4 separate regions of the Homo sapiens genome follow, and all the other regions are linked to region 1. The links are contacts of gene promoters, found by promoter capture Hi-C in human tissues and cell types (Jung and others, 2019). All regions are on one chromosome and are shown on one strand. Each heading gives the region's core, a stretch centred on a gene start or on the middle of the fragment in contact. The rest is flanking DNA. Distances are from core to core; before and after follow the strand shown. Region 1 holds the start of CAPZA3 (capping actin protein of muscle Z-line subunit alpha 3). Region 2 overlaps PIK3C2G (phosphatidylinositol-4-phosphate 3-kinase catalytic subunit type 2 gamma). Region 3 has its middle 150 kb from the start of CAPZA3. Region 4 overlaps PIK3C2G (phosphatidylinositol-4-phosphate 3-kinase catalytic subunit type 2 gamma).

Region 1 (2,688 bases), core at 75-2,574:
ACACAGTTTCTGCTACTTAGTGTTCAATAAATAGTAACCATGACTGATAAAGTTATTATTACTACATTAGTCCAATGCCCAGCTACACACACACTCAAGACAGTACCATCAAAAAGCATCAGAAATACCATGGTGAGTGTATATTTGGTATGAAAAACGAAAAAAATTTTTAAAAGCTTACTTATCATAGATAAACTACAAAAACTAGGACACTTCCATTTGAAAAACTAAGATCGAAATGAGATAATGACAATTATCACTAAAATTATAAAAGGTATAGGTAAAAATTGTGCAAAACTACTAAGTTTCAGATTGTTAGAACGAATTAATGAGATCTCCTTAAATTTAATAGTTATGACTTAATCCAGCAAAGCTCATGTTCTTGTAAGAAAAAGATACCAGAATGCAGGGAAAGTTAGAAAAGCTCAGAACAAACAGGGAAAAGCAGTTCAACTTAAATGAAGAGGACTTAAATTCAGAACTCCTCGAAAAGAATAACAGCATCAAGTAAAGAGGATAAGTAGGAGAAAGAAGAAGAGGAGCAGAAAGAAGCTCTCAATGGATATCTCATTTCCATAGTTTCATGACCTGTAGAGCCGTTTCTCCTCACTTAGAAGTCTTTCCCCAGTAGGTGCTGTCATGGGTTCCAAATACAATTAACTCTGCCCCTTTGCAGAAAATAATTTCTTGATACTCATCAGCTGTTACCACTTTTCTAGGGAGAAAGCAGAGAACACACAGTGGTTTTTTTTGCCTTCGTTCTTTGAAGCTAGCTCACACTTAACCATAGAAACAGTATGCAAGATGTGGTACCTGCACTACCCTGCCCTTGAAACTGTTTGGCTTCTTACGTTCTGACCACCTCCAAACCCACAATATTTGAAAACACAGCTTTCCCTGATGTCTGGCATTTTTCCATGAACTGCCATTGTATCTCCTTTTATTTTTTACTACTTTGTTTAAACCCCTCAAACCTTTCATCATAATATGCTTCCAGTGGGTTTGGGCAGCTACTCTGAGAGCCTGAGTATAAATCAACACCATTGTGATTCCTGAAGTTGCAAAGTGCTGTCACTCTTGAAACTTTGGGCTGCTTCTCTAGATCGTTGACAACATATAATGCACACAGAGACACACCACTTTCGAAGAAGACTGTTCAGGAGGCTAAGTTCTTAAAATCTTCAAAAGAGGTATAGCTGGTTGGCTGGGCACCACACTGTCAGGTGACTGTCATTTTTTCCTTTTGGTCTGAATTCCCATTGTGATATCATCAGAGGTTCCACACTTCACAAGGAAAGCTTCTTATGACCTCATCAGGAGGCTCAGACCTTGCCAGACTGCCTGCTTTCATGGATAGACATAAAAACCTTCAGCTTGAATGTTAACACCTTGATGGGAAAGGTGGCTCATGGAATGTTTTCTTATCCTTTGAACACTCCTCATTTCAGAAGCTTTGCTTCTGTTGCAACCAAACATGACACTTAGCGTGCTGAGCAGGAAGGACAAGGAAAGAGTAATTCGCAGACTGTTATTACAGGCCCCTCCAGGGGAATTTGTAAATGCCTTTGATGATCTCTGTCTGCTTATCCGTGATGAAAAACTTATGCACCACCAAGGTGAGTGTGCAGGCCACCAACACTGCCAAAAATATTCTGTACCACTCTGCATCGATGGAAATCCAGTACTCTTGTCTCACCACAATGTAATGGGCGACTACCGATTTTTTGACCATCAAAGCAAACTTTCTTTCAAATATGACCTGCTTCAAAATCAGCTGAAAGACATCCAAAGTCATGGTATCATTCAGAATGAGGCAGAATACCTGAGAGTTGTTCTTCTGTGCGCCTTAAAACTGTATGTGAATGACCACTATCCAAAAGGAAATTGCAACATGCTGAGAAAAACTGTCAAAAGTAAGGAGTACTTGATAGCTTGCATTGAAGATCACAACTATGAAACAGGAGAGTGCTGGAACGGACTTTGGAAATCTAAATGGATTTTCCAAGTTAACCCATTTCTAACCCAAGTAACGGGAAGAATATTTGTGCAAGCTCACTTCTTCAGGTGTGTCAACCTTCATATTGAAATATCCAAGGACCTGAAAGAAAGCTTGGAAATAGTTAACCAAGCTCAACTGGCTCTAAGTTTTGCAAGGCTTGTGGAAGAGCAAGAGAACAAATTTCAAGCTGCAGTCTTGGAAGAATTACAGGAGTTATCCAATGAAGCCCTGAGAAAAATTCTACGAAGGGATCTTCCAGTGACCCGCACTCTTATTGACTGGCACAGGATACTCTCTGACTTGAATCTGGTGATGTATCCTAAATTAGGATATGTCATTTATTCAAGAAGTGTGTTGTGCAACTGGATAATATAAAGAATTGCTCCTGGTAACTATCTTGATTTGACTTGTTTGTGTTTCTTGGGAATGGTTATTTTCCTAAAATTGAGCAATCTGTAGAGATGTCTCTCACTTAGCCAATGCAAATTTAAATGGGAAAAGTGTAGCAAGTAATTTTACTTGGGGAATATTTATGAACAAGGCAAGAAAGTGTAAAGTAACTGTGTTTCATGGTGGTGACCATCATAAAGACCAAGACATTTGTTAGAAACTAAAATAGTTTTATAGAATCTGGGATTCCAGAAATAGTATAGAGGTGGCCAGGGTTAAGGCTGTGTGTGGGTGTGTAC
Region 2 (2,688 bases), core at 83-2,582, 180 kb before region 1:
AGCAATTGAGTCTCCTGAAGTCATTCAACAATGACTTTCTTGAGATCACTGGCATGAGTCACCAACTGCATTTTATAGATGCAACAGTTGAATATCCTAAAATTGTTCAACAATTACTTTCTTGAGATCATGGGTAGACCTAGTGAGTACAGATTAGAACAAGGTTTATTTCTTGCATAATGAGCGCTCTTCCCAGGACACAACTATGCCAAATCATGTGGAAAAAAGTTCTGCATATGGAACTCTTAATGTCCTGACTGTCAGATAAATATAAATGTTCTTTAACTTTAGTGTCTTCAGATTAGTTGAAAGACCATCATAAGAAAAACATCTACATGCTTATAGCTGTGTTTCTCAAATTGGCATACCACGCTATCAAAGCCCCAAGGATTCATGTGACATATCCTTTTTAGTATCTTATTTTGTTTAAAGGATTAGAATATAAACTGTAAAGTTTGGAGTCAAATGTGTACCTACACATTACATACATGTGCAACCAAAATCATCATGTGCTTTTTCCATGTGTGCAATTTTGAATTTTTAAGAATAAAAGTGCATAGAAATGAATTGTTTTATCATGTACCCAGAATACATTAGCAATGATTGTCACTGAGCTCATTTAGGAATAGTAAATTTTTTTGCTTAAAAAATATGTGTTTGAATACTTAGTGCAGTATGAATTTGTAGTAAAATAGGAATTATCCGAAAGCATACTCATAAGCTTAAGTAAAAGAAAGCACTGGTCATATATTTCAGAGATTACAAATTCAATGCCGAACTACTGATTTTCTTTATGCGATAAAAGAAACTATGACAAAGTTTTATTAATTCATTGTTCCCCTTGAATGATTAAGAGTGACTTGTAAAGCTGGACACTCAGTCAGTAACTTCAATACAAAAAACAAAGTAATGTGTTTCTTGCACATGCCAGAATACTGCAATGAAATGAAGTTTGAGATTTAGATGAAGAAATTTGTTCATGGGGAGTCAGTCAATTGCAACTCTTCCTGTATTTATATATTATGAACTTACAGTATCAGTGGTAAAATAAAGAATGTTCTCATGCAAATTCCTTCACAGAAGCCTTATGAGAAATATTTTCCTGTGACTATTAAAGAGACTGACCATTGAAACAGTTATTCTATCCAACTGCCAAATATATGAACAATTTAAACTGTAAATTGAAATACGCTGTCATAGAAATCTCCATCAGGTGTTGCCTAAGAACCTTGGTTCAACTGCCAATGGCATCGTAGTCATCTCTCCTCAATGCTTAGTCTGATGTAGCTCATAAAGCAGCGAAAAATGTTTGCCATTTGTAGTCACATATCAACATAAATGTGAATTTATATTTAATTTGAGAAAAAATAATCTGCCTAGATGCTGAACCTGACACAGAAGATCAGAGCTCTGGATTCAACTCAGTTTTCTGAGACTGATAGACTCAATTGCCCATTCACACACACAGTGCTAAGAAACCTGTTAGAAGCAATTGTTTCTGATGATAAGCAATTAAAATATTTAGTTTGTATAAAAAGTGCATGTATTATGAAGTAGAATACAATGTATACACATTTTTTAAGATAGGACCTAAGGCTTAAGAAATTTTATGCTTATTATAGGTCCCTTTAGACTATGTTCCTTGGCAGCTAGAAATATGTTACATTTTTTTTACCTAAGGGTTATTTCTATGTAAAAATCAAAGGTTCATTGTCTTAGTACCTTTGATCCACCTGAGAATTCCACAAGTTATTGGCTTATTTTTCTCTGAAAGACAAAATTGAATTATTGTTTGCTTTTTAAAATCCACAGTGAGAGCAAAGACTAAGGAATCAGATAAACATGAGTAGAATTCTTCAGTTACTACTTCTTAGTTGATGTCACCTTTGGTATGCATTTAACTTCTCCTGGTCATTTTCTTATCTATTGCTGAAATAATTGGACTGCTCTTCTCTAAGGATGAAAAGATTAACATGAAGCATTTAGTGTACTACCTGCCAAGGGATATATACTTCCTCAGGGCAGAAATTTGGTTTCTCTTCTTTACCTCCCAGCACATAGAATAGTGCCTAGCAAGGGAGAGTTAAAAGTGTTTATCAAGACTGCTTGGAGACTTCCCTTAGGAAACTTAAGAGCTAAAATCCTCCCAGCTGCTGCTTTATTCCTGTAATATAAGGATAATCCAAAGCATAATCCTGCTAATGCTGCCATTAAACAAAATAAATCAGGGAGCTATTACTTGGATAAATTAGATCCTCACAGAGGCCTGAAACCGACTACACTCAGAGCCCCAGTCCCAAGTCCAATTACAGTTAACAGCACTGTTTTGTCTGACCCGTTAAGTCTGACACCTGAGAGATAGGAGATGGATTTGAGTGAAAGTCTGCCCCCAAACCATGGGCTGACCATAAAGTCTCACCCTTCATCTTCAGACTTCTTACATCCTAACTGTTGGGCAATGTAAGAATAAGGTATGGGCATAGTTGAGATTTTTGTGAGGGTGAGTTCATCAAAACTTAACATTTATGATTCACAAAACTTAAAACTGATATCTTCATGAGAAGTGAGTGCATGCTGTCACCCTAAAGCTTTTCACTCCAGCAAATAAAATGTGTTCAGTAAATGTTTGTTGGATCGATGTTCAATGAATGAATGGTAGAGTCTCCATAAATCATGATTAATATTATA
Region 3 (2,688 bases), core at 72-2,571, 150 kb after region 1:
AACTTCAAGTTTCAGGCCAAAAGCGACTTTCTGGTGATTATTATAGAAAACCTGAGAACTACCACAACTGGTTCTCTTTCTTTATCCTTCTTTCATACTTTATTCAGTAGTTTCTTAAAATAAATATTGAAGGAATATTCAAAGAATGGCAGTTTGAAGAATTACTGAATTCTTATAGCCATCCACAGAGCTCCCATGTCTTAGCTGGGCTCTGCCTCCGCTGTCCTCACCACAGCATGAACAGATTAAGATATGCCAGGTAGCCCCTATAAACCATGTCACCTCACCTCTAGTATGAGGCTATAGAAAAAGAAAAAAGAAAAAAAAAAGCATGTCTCCATCCCTACGTCAGTGTCACACATGCCAGGAACTCGGCAACACTCTGCTTAGAAGATTTAACACCACATTAAATAAACACTACACTGAGATTTTAATTTCAAAAGTACTTTCTTGAAAAACAGCTATGTGACTAGCACCATTTTAAGTATTACGGAGGCTGCTATTAGAAATAAATGGCATGGTCCTTCCCATCAAAGAGCATAGAATCTGCTTAGAAAAACAAGCTTAGAGTAAGCCTTTAAAGTAAACCTCCAGCAAATCTTGGTCCACGCAGTTACAAGCCTTTGCTCTTGAACTGGCACTTGGGAAATATAGAGAATTATTATAGGAATGGATCTCCATTTTGTGAGTGTGTGTGTGTGTGTGTGTGTGTGTGTCTTAGACGTGGAACTTCTCAGATACATATAGTCACCTCATGGCCAAATTATAAAGACACAGGATTCAAAATATTTAACAGAAGGCAAACTTCCTCTGCAGAGATGGGAGAAAGAGCCTGTGTACACAGTTGCAAAATGAAAGGGAGGAAAAGATTCCCTCAGAAGCGTAATCATGCTGGACCCCCTGCCTGGATAATTCAGAGAGAGCTGAGAAAACTATTTCTTCAATTTTGCCATTTTTAGATAAATTAGCAGGATAATTGCCTTGACTCCACTCTTTCCCCGGTGGGTGGAGACACAGCTGGGCTAAGAGTAGAGGCCAAGCCAATCTGAATCCAAATGAAGGGTGAATCACAGTAGGGTTGAATAATAATCCCCTGCTCTCTGCCTCTGCTCTTCTTGTAACCTGCTTCTAGATAAGACCTTTGTCTTTGGGCTGGGATATAATTAAAGCTTGTCAAAACATCCTTCCCATTTCCCTATACACAATTGCCCTCTGTATTATGTTTTATATTAATTTATCCAGATGCTTTAAAAAATTCCCATGTACAATTTTTGAATAATTTTTGAAAAGATCTGTATTCTTCATAACCAAAGCTTTATTTCTAGCTATACACAGCATTTGCCTTCATCTGCATGGCTCTGCTGCAATCTATAGTCCACTGTCTTCATTCATTCATTCATGTTTGTTGACTAAACTAATTCATAAATGTGTGTTGAATGAGAGAGTGAGTGAATTTCTGAGAAAACATGAATTTGCGGGGGAGGGGTCAGGCAGAATGAGGTGATTTGAATGTATCCCCCTTTAAATTTCAGGTGTTGCCAATGCGGTAATGTTGGGAGGCAGGATTTTTGACAGGCGACTGGGCTATGTGGGCTCATCGCTTGTGGGCGAGATTGAACGCCCTTGTAAGAGGACTTGGCAAAAGGAGTTCTTCCTTTCTCACCCTCCCAGCTTTTTCCATGTGAAAATACAGCATTCTTCCCTGCTGGAGGATGCAACCCTGACCAGACACCAAATGCCTGTGCCTTGTTCTAGAGCTTCCAGCCTCCAGGACTGTCAGAAATAATTTTCTGTTCTTTGTAAATTACCCAGTCTCAGGTACTGTGTTATAGCAGCACAAACAAAGACAGGGGTATTCAACAAATACGATTGTGTAGACACATTTTATAGTATCAGCATGGTCTGGATTTTGAGTCACCTTGTCTTATACTCTGAGGTTGAACTCCATGACATTCACTTAAATGGCAAAATGCTGTAAACATGTATATATGAACCGAAGTGAATTTGTACTTACATCTTGATGCCTAACTTTCCTGGCAGTATTAGTATTTGTTATTTTTTTCTAAACCACCTTCAGTGTATATGTCTCCAAACATAAATGTTCAATATTCAATATCACACATGTAGTCATTCATCATTTCATAAAATTATGAAATCGAGAAGAATCTCTGTTGCCCATTGCCAATGTATTATACAGTCTGTGTACTCTTCATAACCAAGGCTTTATTTCTAGCTGTACACAGCATTTCCCTTCATTTGCATGATGCTGCTGTAATCTACAGTCTACACTATTACCAATGTATATGCAATTATGCTACACTATAGCACAATTTTTATATAATGTACTATTTTCAATCTCTGTTGTTTGCTGAGTATATTTTCCTGATATGCTTTCCTTCTATGGGTTTAGAGTTTTATAGTTGTTGCCTATTATTTCTGAGTGTGGTCGAAGTAGACAGGTTTTCTGTGTACTTATCAGTGTTTATGATGTCTTCTAAGATAACATCATCAGTCAATCTGGAATGTTTCTCTAACACTTAAACTTCACTAAAAATTTGAGGGAATGATTACTATGCCCCTAATTCTAACTAGAGCATATGTTCTAGCCTGAGCTAAACAACTGATTCAGAAGGCTTTAAAATATTTCAAATGATATAAATAACCCTCAAGGATCATAATTGGCAACTT
Region 4 (2,688 bases), core at 72-2,571, 130 kb before region 1:
GAGTAAATAGGTAGAAAAAGGCATTTCATGCAAATGTACACCAAAAGCGAGCAGGGTTAGCTATTCTTATATCAGACAAAACAAACTTTAAAGCAACCACAGTTAAAAGAGACAAAGAGGGACAGTATATAATGGTAAAAAGCCTTGTCCAACAGGAAACTATCACAAACCTAAACATATATGCACCTAACACTGGGGCTCCCAAAGTTATAAAACAATTACTAAAAGACCTAAAAAATGAGATAGACAGCAACACAATAATAGTAGGGGACTTCAATACTCTGCTGACAGCACTAGACAGGTCATCAAGACAGAAAGTCAACTGAGAAACAATGAATTTAAACTATACCTTGGAGCAAATGGACTTAACAGATATATCTAGAACATTTCATCCAGCAACCACAGAATACACATTCCACTCAACAGTGCCTGGAACTTTCTCCAAGATAGACCATATGACAGGCCATAAAATGAGCCTCAATAAAGTTAAGAAAATTGAAATTATATCAAACACTCTCTCAGACTACAATGGATTAAAACTGAAAATCAACTCCAAAAGGAACCTTCAAAACCACACAAATACATGGAAATTAAATAACCTGCTCCTGAATGAGTGTTGGGTCAAAAATGAAACCAAGATGGAAATTAAAAAAATTCTTTGAACTGAATGACAGTAATGACACAACCTATCAAAACCTCTGGGATACAGCTAAGGCTGTGCTAAGAGGAAAGTTCCCAGCCTGCCTACATCAAAAAGTCTGAAAGAGCACACACACAATCTAAGGTCACACCTCAAGGAACTAGAGAAACAAGAACAAGCCAAACCCACACTCAGCAGAAGACAGGAAATAACCAAGATCAGAGCAGAACTAAATGAAATTGAAACAAAAAAATTACAAAAGATGAATGAAACAAAAAGCTGGTTCTTTGGAAATACAAATAAAATTGATAGACCATTAGCAAGATTAACCAAGAAAAGAAAGAAAATCCAAATAACTTCATGGAGAAATGAAACGGGAGATATTACAACAGATACCACTGAAACACAAAAGATCATTCAAGGGTACTATGAACACCTTTACACACATAATCTAGAAAACCTAGAAGACATGGATGAATTCCTGGAAAAATACAACCCTTGTAGCTTAAATCAGGAATAATTAGATACCCTGAACAGACCAATAATAAGCAGTGAGATTAAAATGGTAGTTAATAAATTACTGACCAAAAATCCAGGATCAGATGGATTCACAGCAGAATTCTATCAGACGTTCAAAGAAGAATTGGTACCAATCCTTTTGACACTATTCCACAAGATAGAGAAAGAAGGACCTCTCCCTAATTCATTATATGAAGCCAGCATTATGCTAATACCAAAACTAGGACAGGACACAACCAAAAAAGATAACTACAGACCTATATCCTTGATGAACACAGTCATCCTTAAAATTAAAAATATTTTAACAGCTCTTGGGGTGACTATAAATGGTTAATCTAAGCATAGTTGAATCCCTCAGACTAACTTGAAGCAGAAGACCAAAATATCTTAGCGTCTTCTTGAACATATTAAGCTATTCACAAATGTCCCTCTTGAGTTCATTTAACCTGTTTTTCTTATGTTGTAGCCGCCTTTCTTGACTCTCTACAGCATGGTGCTTATAAACCAGGCGCTTATAAACACAGGCTTTGGAGATCACTTAAACCTGCACCGTTTATTGTCTCTATGACCTTGGACCAAGTGCCTGAGTTTCCTCATGTGTAAAATGGAGATAATACAAATTTCATAGATTTGCTATGATGATTGAATGCGTTACTGTACATAAAGCTCTTAGCCTGGCATACAGTCAAAGCTACAGAAATAATAAGCCTCTCTACTCCTACTGCTACATTGACTACTGAGTGTCAATTCCTAGTGGTGTGAGTTTTCACTGGGTTCTGAACTCCGGCATGTTTTGATGGACACTTTAGTTACTAATCTTGAGCAAGAGGTGGAGGGAGAACTATCATCTTCAGTCAGTTCAAGTGGCAATTGTACTTTTACTATTTAGGCAGTCAATCACAAATTTATGCTAATTTTCTACCTTTGAATTAAAACTTCTCTGATTAAATACATTGGCTGTCTACTTAACAATTCTTCCACTCTTTAATTCAAATATAATGTTCGTTGTGCCTCAAAACGTCATCAGCATTTTTAGCACCTTTATACCAAACATCTTTTTATTATGAAATGCAATTTACTTCAGTCTTACTAAGAACTATCTCATAGTATCTCTGTGTTAGTCTATATAGTCTCTCCCAGTTAGTGTAATCAAGATATTATAAGTGATTTTTTCTTATATTACCATTGCAATTGTAAAAAACATCCTTTTCAATGTCACAAATCCATATTATTAACAATAAAATTAATATCACCTCATACAATGTATAAATTATTCAAATAAACATGTAGAAGGCTTTGAAAAGTTATATATTTGAAAATTATACTGATCAGGTGTAACTACACTGCTCAGGTATAATTTTCAAATCTTAGAGAAGATTAGAAAGTTAAGATTGACTTTCTGATGACCATTGACAAATTCTTTGTTATTAATAAATTGATCTCTAAATTACCCCAGATAACATACAACCAAAGATTATAAGGGAAATATTAGTAAAACTATAAATTATGTTTAATCCTTGGGAAGTAAA

The links. The method cuts DNA at HindIII sites, captures the fragments that hold promoters and counts their contacts. A contact is called where the count stands out against the background at its distance.
Region 2: a contact is called between a fragment that was not itself captured here and the fragment with the promoter of CAPZA3 in region 1, in 2 of the 25 tissues and cell types used here (dorsolateral prefrontal cortex and mesenchymal stem cells).
Region 3: a contact is called between a fragment that was not itself captured here and the fragment with the promoter of CAPZA3 in region 1, in 7 of the 25 tissues and cell types used here (adrenal gland, bladder, dorsolateral prefrontal cortex and 4 more).
Region 4: a contact is called between a fragment that was not itself captured here and the fragment with the promoter of CAPZA3 in region 1, in 5 of the 25 tissues and cell types used here (bladder, dorsolateral prefrontal cortex, lymphoblastoid cells and 2 more).

Annotation. Positions count from the first base shown.
Region 1 is chr12:18,736,795-18,739,482 of GRCh38, forward strand. It overlaps CAPZA3 (capping actin protein of muscle Z-line subunit alpha 3), which reads left to right and starts at 1,325. Exons shown (of 1, transcript NM_033328.3): 1 at 1,325-2,394. The coding sequence starts at 1,475. The coding sequence ends at 2,374. PLCZ1 (phospholipase C zeta 1) reads right to left here and starts at 1,218. Exons shown (of 15, transcript NM_033123.4): 1 at 1,138-1,218; 2 at 567-715. The coding sequence starts at 577. The HindIII fragment of the contact is 1,043 bases long and covers 738-1,780 here.
Region 2 is chr12:18,554,009-18,556,696 of GRCh38, forward strand. The region is part of intron 26 of PIK3C2G (phosphatidylinositol-4-phosphate 3-kinase catalytic subunit type 2 gamma); the gene reads left to right. Among named protein-coding and RNA genes, the nearest start is that of PLCZ1, 180 kb to the right of the region's middle. The HindIII fragment of the contact is 3,052 bases long and covers 1-2,688 here.
Region 3 is chr12:18,887,226-18,889,913 of GRCh38, forward strand. No RefSeq gene overlaps it. Among named protein-coding and RNA genes, the nearest start is that of CAPZA3, 150 kb to the left of the region's middle. The HindIII fragment of the contact is 5,934 bases long and covers 1-2,688 here.
Region 4 is chr12:18,604,181-18,606,868 of GRCh38, forward strand. The region is part of intron 30 of PIK3C2G (phosphatidylinositol-4-phosphate 3-kinase catalytic subunit type 2 gamma); the gene reads left to right. Among named protein-coding and RNA genes, the nearest start is that of PLCZ1, 130 kb to the right of the region's middle. The HindIII fragment of the contact is 5,439 bases long and covers 1-2,688 here.